Regions from separate parts of the Homo sapiens genome. Here all the other regions are linked to region 3. The links are contacts of gene promoters, found by promoter capture Hi-C in blood cells and fetal thymus (Javierre and others, 2016). All regions are on one chromosome and are shown on one strand. Each heading gives the region's core, a stretch centred on a gene start or on the middle of the fragment in contact. The rest is flanking DNA. Distances are from core to core; before and after follow the strand shown. Region 1 overlaps CLUAP1 (clusterin associated protein 1). Region 2 overlaps NAA60 (N-alpha-acetyltransferase 60, NatF catalytic subunit). Region 3 holds the start of TIGD7 (tigger transposable element derived 7).

Region 1 (3,816 bases), core at 641-3,140, 200 kb before region 3:
TCCCCAAACTTCTTTGCAGGAGTCTGTCACCTTCTCTGCTTCTCAAAAGTGGAGCGAGTCAGAGTTTCATTCCTGGACCCCCCGTCTTTTCTGCTGGCTCTGCTCCTACCCTCAAGGCTTTAATACCATCTGTGTGCTGATTGCTCCCCAGCTCCCAGCTCCAGCCTGGGCTTTCCCTGGGCTCTAGTTTCACATACCAGCTACCTGTGCACCATCTCCACCTGGACAGCCAATCGGCGTGGCAAATGGAGCATGTGCAGAACCTTCTCTGCTTCAGTACATGGCAACTTCATCCTTCCAGGGGCTCACACAAAAAACTTCAGAGCAGTGATGTCTAATATAGTAACCAATAGCCACATGTGGCCATTTTCACTTAAATTACTTAAGAATTAAAGAAAATGCAGAACTCAACTCAGTTCCTCAGTTGTGCTTGCCACATGTGGCCAGTGGTTCCCGTAGAGTACAGCACAGAGGCGGAACACACCCATGAGCTCTGCAAGCTCTGCCGCACGGCTGCCCCAAGACCCGGCCTGTAGCACCTGACTTACTCTCAACCCATGCCTCATCCCGTGAGATCTACCATCAAAATATGCCCCAATCTCTAGACACTTCTCTTGCTGACGAGTGTCGCTCCTGGTTAAAAACCCACATGTGAGGACAGGCGCGGTGGCTCACGCCTATAATCCCAGCACTACGGGAGGCCGAGGCAGGCAGATCACCTGAGGTCAGGAGTTTGAGACTAGCTGGCCAACATGGTGAAACCCCATCTCTGCTAAAAAAAAAAAAAAAAATACAAAGCCGGGTGCGGTGGCTCACGCCTGTAATCCTAGCACTTTGGGAGGCTGAGGCGGGCAGATCACCTGAGGTCAGGAGTTCGAGACTAGCCTGACCAACATGGAGAAACCCTGACTCTACTACAAGTAAAAAATTAGCTGGGTGTGGTGGCGCATGCCTGTAATCTCAGCTACTCAGGAGGCTGAGGCAGAAGAATCACTTGAACCTGGGAGGCAGAGGTTGCAGTGAGCTGAGATTGTGCCATTGCACTCCAGCCTGGGCAACAAGAGTGAAACTCCATCTCAAAAAAAAAAAAAAAAAATTAGCTGGGCATGGTGGTGTGTACCTGTAATCCCAGCTACTTAGGAGGCTGAGGCAGAAGAATCTCTTGAACCTGGGAGGCAGAGGCGCAGCGAGCCAAGATCGTGCCATTGCACTCCAGCCTGGGCCACAGACTGAAACTCCGTCTCAAAACAAAACAAAAACAAAACAAAAAAGCTGTGTGTGGCTTTTCAAGCCCAACTATAGACCATGACAAGGCCTCACCTAGCAGGCCTCACAGGGGAAGCTTTCTTCCCTGCAGCAGACTTGGAGCTCAGCCAGTGCACTGTGGTTTCACGTACCCTGCGTGGCCACACTCTTAGGTGCACTCCCAGCCCCGGGGCCTTCATTCCTAGGTCTCCTGCTCTGAGGCCTTGGGCCTCAGAGTAACGGCTTAACCTTTATTTCTGGCTTGCTGCTGTGGTCGCTCCCTGACACCTGACGGCACCTGTCCCACCAGCACTCTGCTCAAAGCCACGGTCACCCCTCACTCTCCAAACAGGCTCGCTGCTTCCAGCCCTGCCGCCTGCTTCGGTCTGATGGCGGCTCAGCAGCCAGAGCAACCCTTTGGACGGGAAATAAGCACAGAAGGTTCCGCTTGGATCCCAACGATTCCCACCTTAGAGGCAAAGACAAAGGCTTTCCAGGGGCTTCCCAGGCGCCAGAGGGTCTGTCAATCCCAACCCTCATCACACGGCCTCCTTGCTTTTCCTCAAACACACAAAACACATTTTTTTTCTTCCCCCCAGACAAGGTCTCGTTCTGTTGCCTAGGCGGGAGCGCAGTGCCATGAACATGGCTTGACTGCCTGGGCTCAAGAGATCTTCCCACCTCAGCCTCCTGGGCAGCTGGGACCACAGGTGTGTACCACCACGCCTAGCTAATTTTTTTCTTTTTTTTGGTAAAAATGGCGTCTCACTATGTTGCCCAGGTTGGTCTGGAACTCTTGGCATCAAAGGATCCTCCCACCTCGGCCTCCCAAAGTGTTTGGCTTACAGGAGTGAGTCACTGCACCCAGCCCAAAACAAATTATCATCCTGAGACACCCTGACGCCACCCGCCACCCGCACAACTCACTCTTTCCCTCCCTTGGATCTCTGCTGGAAACACCATCCAATCCATGAGGCCTTCCTGATCACCCGATTTAAGATCACTCTGGGCAGCATCCATCCCCATCCCAGCTTATTATTCTCCACAGCCTGCACTGCATCTGGCCTTCCACACCTCTTATTGTTCACAGTCTGACTCCCCTAACTGAAGAGAATAAACACACGATTTTTGTCCTTTTTGTTCACAACTGTATCCTCAGCGCTTGAATGCTACCTGACAAATACTAAGCTTTTAATAAATAGTTGAATTAGTGGATTGTGACTTTGACTTTATCCAAATGCTGATGAGCACAAAACTGACAAACTGCCCTCAGCTGAGGAGGAAGAAAAGCAGCGGAGCTGTAGCAGACTCCTTCCACTTCAGAGCTCAAGAAATCAACGCTCCATCGCCCACTACAAGGCTTTTGTTGTCCTTACCTTTGAGCCAAGATCAAACTTGAACTTGTTGACATCTTCCTCTACTATTTCAGAGCCCTCCATCCCCTTGGTCTTCATAGCATTATAAAGGACAGATGTGATCTTCAGCAGCTCTTTTACCGCATACCCATCTGCTTGATAAAGCTTCTTAGTGTTGAGTTTTATATGTGCCTTGGTGGCCTATTTTTAGACCAAAAAAAAAAAAAGTTGAAGGCCCTTTCCATGTAATGTCTAAACTAAATCCCATGTAGGTGAGTTGAAAATGCCTCTGCTGACAACTGGGATATAACCTAATAAAAGCAAAGCATTCAAGTGACTCAAACATTGTGAGTGGTTGTATAAACTGGGACAATCTTGATGGAGAGCAATTTGGTAAAAGACATCAAAATTACAAATGCACATATCTTTTGACCCAGCAATCCCAAATCTAAGAACTTATTCTAGGGACACACTCAAACACAAACAAAATGAGATGTACAGGTTATTTGTTACAGCACTGTTCCAAAGAGCAAAGCTTCAGACAACCTAAAAGCCTACCTATATAAATTACATAAATTATGGCAAATCCATGCAAGCAATACCACTCAGGCGTAAACAGAATGAGGAAATTCTATATGTATTTGGAAAGTTCTCTAAAATATACCATTAAGTAAAGCAAGATGCTAAACATCTTGTAGTGTACAGTAAGTACATCAAGTAGAATACAGTACCATTTGTGTAAAACAAAGGAAAAATATATATTTTTATTTGCACACACACACACACACACACACACACACACACACACAAACTCTGGAAGAGATTTAAAATAGTGGTTATTTGGAATGGAACTTGGCCCAGGGCAGATAGGGTAAAAAGTCATTTTACTCCATTTTGTTTCATAATGTTTTTAATTTTTTTTTTTTTTTTGAGATAGGGTCTCACTCTGTCACCTGGGCTGGAGTGCAATGACATGATCCCGGCTCACTGCAGCCTCAACCTCCCGGGCTCAAGCAATCCTCCCACCTCAGCCTCCCAAGCACCTGAGACTACAGGCACGTGTCACCAGGCCCATCTAATTTTTTTTAAATTTATTTTTTGTAGAGACAGGATCTCACTACATCACCCAGGCTGTTCTCAAACTCCTGGACTCAAGCTATCCTCCCACCTTGGCCTGCCAAAGTGCTAGGATTACAGGCATGAACAACCACGCCCA
Region 2 (3,329 bases), core at 34-2,533, 140 kb before region 3:
CAAGTAGCTGGGACTACAGGTGCCCACCACCACGCCCAGCTAATTTTTTGTATTTTTAGTAAAGATGGGGTTTCACCGTGTTAGCCAGGATGGTCTCGATCTCCTGACCTCATGATCCACCTGCCTTGGCCTCCCAAAGTGCTGGGATTACAGACGTGAGCCACCACGCCCAGCACACCCGGCTACATTTTTGTATTTTTTAGTAGAGATGGGGTTTCAACATGTTGGGCAGGCTGGTCTCGAACTCCTGACCTCCAGAGATCTACCCGCCTCACCTCCTAAAGTGCTGGGATTACAGGCGTGAGCCACTGCGCCCAGCCCTTTGGCTCCTTCTTTATGAGTAGATAATGAAAAATAAATTTTTAACAAAAGAAATTCTCCTTTGGTATAAAATGATGCAAGTGTGTAAGACGGATCACCACAGATGATACTGCTTCCTTTGATTAGAACCAAACCAGAGGTGGCACAGGATGACCACCACGTGGCTACACAGACCAATCTCAGAGGGTCAGGGCAGCACACTGGGAGAGTCTCGTTCTCCACTAACATTGTCAGTGTGCCCTGAGACTGGGCTTACCCATCAGACTCACAAGAGACTGATGCTTAAACCAAATCTTGTTTACTTCTTTATAGTTTAAAGAGGCTGGCATACTTGTACTGTATCCCTGTGTACCTAACGTAAGAATATACTCATTTACCCTCCTAGCAAAAAAGTGAAAGCATTTGTTTCACTAGGCGCCTTCTATCATTCAGTACTAAAAATTAAGAGAATATTTAATACTTGACAGGTCAAAAATGGATTTCACTTAAGTAGGCTTCCTCTGACTATGAGGGCATCATTAATAGCAGGACACAGAGCGCTTTGACTCACTCTCTGGAGCTCTTCTCCCAACTCAGGCTGGCTCCGCACTTCCTTCCTCCAGGTACAGCCTTTCTGTATGCTGCAGGGGAGAAAGACACAAGGCCATCACTTCACTCCTGGCCATCCCATCTCTACAACTCATAGGCTAATGAGTGTCAGACAAACCCTGGATCTCAGAGTATCAATCTGATGGGCCCTTTTGGGGAAAAATTAACTATCTAAACATGTAGTTCTCTAAACTACAAAGCAACCCATGTTTTTTTTTTTTTTTTTTTTGAGACAAGGTCTTGCTCTGTCATCCAAGCTGGAGTGCAGTGGCACAATGCTAGCTCACTGCAGCCTCGAACTCCTGGACTCAAGTGATTCTCTTGCTTCAGCCTCTAAAGTAGCTGGAATTATAGGTGTGAGTGACCACGCCCAGCCTCCAACCCATCCTTTCTTCTCTGTCCTCACTGTATCTAACCTGCATTCTCTGTACCTCTTACTACCCTCCAGGAGTCTTTGGTTGCAGCTTCTAGTAACGATAATTATTCAGTATGAGTAGGTCAAGAATCTTTCTCTGGAAGCACCTCTGCCTCAGTGACTGAAAAAGAATTCTGTTGGGAGTTAACACAGACCAAGCCAGTTTTTGGTAACAGAATTAACATGTTGAAGGTACGTTTAGAGCCCTGAGCTTTTTTCTAATTAAAAGACTCCTATTAGTTTCAACTCAAGGCTAAATGAAACTAAAAAGACTCCTATCCAGCTAGAAGTTGTGCTAATTTCAAAACTGTGTGAGCCTCTTGTTCTTGCAGGCATGACTTGCAGCCATTGTCCCCTTATAAGACTGGAGACTAGGTAGCAACAGTTTTCTAACTGCTCAATCAAGCATTCTGAACACCAGTAAGAAAACCTCTTGCTGAAGTTGGGAGAAAGATAATCTTGCTTACCTAGGCCCCCTTAGTGTAGGTGAGAAGGCTCTGTGTCAGTTTCCGATCAGTATCAACTTCCCATGAAGGATACGGTAAAGGCGGTAAGAACCAGAGCCATACTTATGTTTAAGTAATAGACCTTAAAAGGCAGTACCATCTGGGAATGGAAAACACACCAAACGTAGTGAGCAATTCATTCTGGAAATCATGTTAAACATCGCCAGGGAAGATACCCCATTTACCTTGAAGTGATTACACATTGCATGCCTGCATCAAAATATTTCATGTACCACATAAATATATACACCTACTATGTACCCATAAAAATTAAAAATATAACTACCACTACCATTTTAACGCATAGTCTTCAAAAGCAACTTTGTTATTGTTTTTGTTTCATAACCAATTTTACTCCCAAAAATGAGTATCTTTCCGTTTCAATATACAGCTGCATCATCATAAAAATCACTAGGGAAAAGATATATACTTAAGAATAGGGGCCGGGGGCAGGGGCTCACGCCTGTAATCCCAGCACTTTGGGAGGCCAAGGCGGGCAGATCACAAGGTCAGGAGTTCGAGACCAGCCTGGCCAATATGGGGAAAACCCGTCCTCTACTAAAAATACAAAAATTCGCCAGGTGTGGTGGTACGCACCTATAGTCCCAGCTACTCGGGAGGCTGAGCCAGAAGAATTGCTTGAACCTGGGAGATGGAGGTTGCAGTGAGCAGGCCAGGTGCGGTGGCTCATACCTGTAATCCCAGCACTTTGGGAGGCTGACATGGGCGGATCACTTGAGGCCAGGAGTTTGAGACCAGCCTGGCCAACATGGCAAAACTGCATCTCTACTAAAAATACAAAAATTAAATGGTTGTGGTGGCATCTGCCCATCATCTCATCTACTCTGGTAGCTGAGGCACAAGAATCACTTGAACCCAGGAGGCGGAAGTTGCAGTGAGCAGAGATCGCACCACTGCTCTCCAGCCTGGGCAACAGTGAGACTGTCTCAAAAAAAAAAAAACAAATAATAAAGAGTAAATAGTGGTGATCTCTGGGTGACAGGAATGTGTTGCCATTTTTTCCCCTGTATTTTCTTTTTTTTTTTTTTTTCAGACAGAGTCTCACTCTGTCACCCAGGCTGGAGTGCAGTGGTGTGATCTCGGCTCACTGCAAGCTCCGCCTCCCAGGTTCACGCCATTCTCCTGCCTCAGCCTCCCGAGTAGCTGGGACTACAGGTGCCCGCTACCACGCCTGGCTAATTTTTTGTATTTTTAGTATAGATGGGGTTTCATCGTGTTAGCCAGGATGGTCTCGATCTCCTGACCTTGTGATCTGCCCACCTCAGCCTCACAAAATGCTGGGATTACAGGCGTGAGCCACCGCACCCAGCCTTTCCTAACTTTCTGAAATGCACATATACTACTTTTGTAATGATGTTAGTTTTACTATTTTTAAAAAGATAATTTTCAGAGAAAGCAGATGCTGGGCTATAGAAATAATTTCAATACAAACAGGTTGTAGTTGTTATTACTGGTACCATGTTAAAGACAGAAATGGA
Region 3 (3,618 bases), core at 568-3,067:
GTGCGCCGTGGCTCATGCCTGTAATCCCAGCACTTTGGGAGGCCTGACGTGGGTGGATCACCTGAGACCAGGACTTCAAGACCAGCCTGGCCAACATGGTGAAACCTTCTTTATTGTAAACACAAAAATTAGCCAGGTGTGGTAGTGCGCGCCTGTAGTCCCAGCTACCCAGGAGGCTGAGGCAGGAAAATTGTTTGAACCCGGGAGGTGAAGGCTGCAGTGAGCTCAGACTGTGCCACGGCACTCCAGCCAGGGCAGCAAAACGAGATTCCATCTCCAAAAAAAAAAAAAAAAGTTATTTAAAACTTATGAACTGTTTATTTCTGGAGTTTTCCATTTAATATTTTTTGGATGGCAGTTGACAGCGGGTAAGTGAAACCCAGATACAGTGGGGGGAGGGGGTACTACAGAAAGTAAAAAAGTAGCCTATTTTCAGACAATGTCTCCCAAGTAAGCAACAAGATGCTCATCATTCTTTGCAACACACATAAAGGGTGCCATGCAGATGATTTATACGAATTTTGTTTTTTTTTTTGAGATGGAGTCTCGCCCTGTCACCCAGGCTGGAGTGCAGTGGCGTGATCTCAGCTCACTGCAACTTCCACCTCCCCGGTTGAAGCCATTCTCCTGCCTCAGCCTCCCGACTAGCTGGGATTACAGGCGCGTGCCACCATGCCCGGCTAATTTTTGTGTTTTTAGTAGAGACAGGGTTTCACCATCTTGGCCAGGGTGGTCTCGATCTCCTGACCTCGTGATCCACCCATCTTGGCCTCCCAAAGTGCTGGGATTACAGGCGTCAAACACCGCGCCAGGCCTATATGAATTTTTAACTGTGCTTACTTGATCTGGAGAAAATTACAGCTGACCTCTGTTTACAAAATATCAACTTGTAAAAAAGGATATTTTATTTACAAAATATCAAGTCGTATTTTCTTTCTGTCGCTGATGTTTATGAAATATCAACTCCAACAGGAGTTGGTGACGATGAAAGTGAAACTTTCTGCTGACTTTGTATTTCTCCAAAGGTCATTTAGACTTCTAAGGGGGGCTGAGGAGAGCCGTGAGCCTCACTTTTCCTGAAGTGAGCCAGCAGAAACGGCACCGAAATTCTGCCCAGGATGCCACCGGTATTCAAAGAAGTGGCCAGCTCCTTGCTGCCCACCCCGGTTCCAGAAGCAAAGAGACACTTCCTATGTTTTTGCATCAGTAGAAGCTGCTAGCCCTGAGGCTCAACCGACCGCATGACATCGGCCGGACACGGAAATGCCGGCGGAGGCGGGAAAGAGTCTGCGGGCGCAGCTGCAGGCACTGCTGCCCGCCAGCACTCGGATTCGCCACAGCCTGTGTCTGCGACAGGCGTGCCCGTGGGCACTGGGCAAGCGGGCAGTGTCCCAGCGAGCTTCAGCCGCGCCTCTGGGATACAGCTGCGAAAAGCGGGGAGAGAATGGTTTCTCGTGCCCGACGGTGGCCCCGCCTCAGGCTCCAGCCGCGCGGCCCGGAAGCGCCGCGGCCACCGCCTACGGAAAATGGCTGCCTCCCTGCGGCCGCCGCCGCTCCAGCGGCTCCAGGGTCGAAGCCATAGGGGAAGCCGCTTCTCGGTTACCTCGGCCAGCTTGGCTTCCGTGGAGGCCGCTCCTCGCTTTCTGAGGCTCAAACGCAAGCCACCGCCCGAAAGGCCGCCGATCTGAGGAGCGCAACCGCCAGCCCACCGCTGGCCTACCGCAGCCCTGTCCAGGTACAGAGCCAGAGCGCCGGCCGGAAGTGGAAGTGACGCTTTCCGAGGGTGGCGCAGGCCCGCCCTCTGGCTAAGGCGCCTGAGCCCGGCCTACTTCCTCGCCAGAGAAACTGCTGTCTTCCCCGGCGGTAGGGAAGGGTTAATGCCACCGAGTATCCAGACCCGCTGAAGCCTAGAGGGCCTTGTACCGGCTCACCGCGTGGCTGTCGCTGTCTCGTGTCCCCAGTGGGGGAGGCGTCGCACTGCCGCGTCTGTTCTGCGTGGCTGTCGGGCGGCGTTTGGTCCCGGGAGCCTCGCCGGGTAAGGGTCGCCTCCCAGCTGCGCGCGCCGCGTTCTCGGGCTTCCCGCGGCCCGGCCGGCCGTGCTCGAGCTGTTGCTGGGCTCGTCGCCGCCTCCTCGAGGAAGAGGCATTTTGTCCGGGTCGGGCCACTCGCTAGGTCAGAAACAGCGGCCCCCCGAGGGTTTTGTACCGTTTTCTAGGTCTCGTGACGCATTCCCCACAACTATTTTTTCTTGAGGTAGGTTTGAACCTGTGAAATAGGTTCTTTTTCTATCTCTCCTTGACAGAGAAACGGAGACCTAAGAAGTGACTTGCTCAGGGTCACATAGCTCAGCAGTGGCGGCCGCTAATCGGAAATAGCTCTCCTGTTGTGGTATCCTCTGCGTTTTCCACTCCAGTATTCTTCCCTGGAAAATGGGAACCTTGTTTTCATCTTATATCTCATGCAGCGCCTAACATAGTCACCTGGTAAGATAGGCATTCCACACATATTTACTGAATCATAGTTATAAGAATCTGAGTGTTTTGGGTGTTCAGTGATCTCTGAATTAATCCGTTTTTGTAATGTCAGTCTGTACCAGTTGAGGGATTATTTAATAAGTCCAGTATGAGTGGTTTCGGAATTACCAGTTTTTGTAACGTCAGCTTATACCAGTCAAGGGACTATTTATTAAGTCAGCTATGTGTAGCCAATATTGCAGAGTTGAGTAAGAAGTCTTTGTCCTTAAGCAATCTCTTGAAAGGACTGAGCAATTTCGTGAATATCAGTAACACAAGGGTAAGAATAGGACATAAACTGAATGCTGTGAGAACTCCAAGAAAATCCAAGTTGATTTGGGGTTGGGGGAAATTATAAAAGACCTTGAGGGATTTTGTCCACAGCAGGGAATGGAGACACTTTCCAGGCAGAGGGAAGGGTAGGAGTAAAGGCTTTAAAAGCTGGAAACATTAGACTGTGAGATCTTAGGTACGTTTTTACTGAGTTGGGCTGCATTTAGAGGAAGAGTTTTAAAAGTTAGAAAACGAGTTTATGTGGCACTTATACTGGAGTCCTTTGAATGGGAATGAAAAGAGTGCATTTAAGAAAGTAAATCCTGGCCGGGCGCGGTGGCTTACGCCTGTAATCCCAGCACTTTGGGAGGCCGAGGCGGGCGGATCATGAGGTCAGGAGATCGAGACCATCCTGGCTAACATGGTGAAACCCCGTCTCTACTAAAAAATACAAAAAAAAATTAGCCGGGCGTGGTGGTGGGCGCCTGTAGTCCCAGCTACTCGGGAGGCTGAGGCAGGAGAATGGCGTGAACCCGGGAGGCGGAGCTTGCAGTGAGCCGAGTTCACGCCACTGCATTCCAGCCTGGGCGACAGAGCGAGACTCCGTCGCAAAAAACAAAACAAAACAATACAAAAAAGTAAATCCTGGAGCACCATTTGAGCGTTTTGGACTGAGCTGCTTTCTATGGCAGTTCATCTAAGGTAAGTTTAAGGTGAGAATGAAGATGAGAGGCCATTACCAGGCCATTATGCTATTTTTGCTTTTGGATGGGATGGTATGTAACTCCTCTTAGGCATAGATCTTGATCCTTTTTAAGTGAGAGAGAAAGAT

The links. Contacts are between HindIII fragments. The CHiCAGO score rates a contact against its expected background, and 5 or more counts as called.
Region 1: a contact is called between a fragment that was not itself captured here and the fragment with the promoter of TIGD7 in region 3, in 1 of 17 cell types (naive CD8 T cells). The highest score is 5.3, in naive CD8 T cells.
Region 2: a fragment that was not itself captured here is called in contact with the fragment with the promoter of TIGD7 in region 3 in 11 of 17 cell types (erythroblasts, naive CD8 T cells, naive CD4 T cells and 8 more); the score reaches 9.0 in erythroblasts.

Annotation. Positions count from the first base shown.
Region 1 is chr16:3,507,274-3,511,089 of GRCh38, reverse strand. CLUAP1 (clusterin associated protein 1) reads right to left here. Exons shown (of 12, transcript NM_015041.3): 4 at 2,622-2,801. Among named protein-coding and RNA genes, the nearest start is that of CLUAP1, 8.2 kb to the right of the region's middle. RefSeq lists an enhancer at 1,116-1,175. The HindIII fragment of the contact is 1,091 bases long and covers 1,345-2,435 here.
Region 2 is chr16:3,446,083-3,449,411 of GRCh38, reverse strand. It overlaps NAA60 (N-alpha-acetyltransferase 60, NatF catalytic subunit), which reads right to left. Exons shown (of 8, transcript NM_001083601.3): 2 at 872-941. Among named protein-coding and RNA genes, the nearest start is that of NAA60, 4.1 kb to the right of the region's middle. The HindIII fragment of the contact is 4,492 bases long and covers 1-3,329 here.
Region 3 is chr16:3,303,629-3,307,246 of GRCh38, reverse strand. It overlaps TIGD7 (tigger transposable element derived 7), which reads left to right and starts at 1,817. Exons shown (of 2, transcript NM_033208.4): 1 at 1,817-2,035. ZNF75A (zinc finger protein 75A) reads right to left here and starts at 1,750. Exons shown (of 7, transcript NM_001302109.2): 1 at 1,604-1,750. RefSeq lists an enhancer at 1,727-2,256. The HindIII fragment of the contact is 19,814 bases long and covers 1-3,618 here.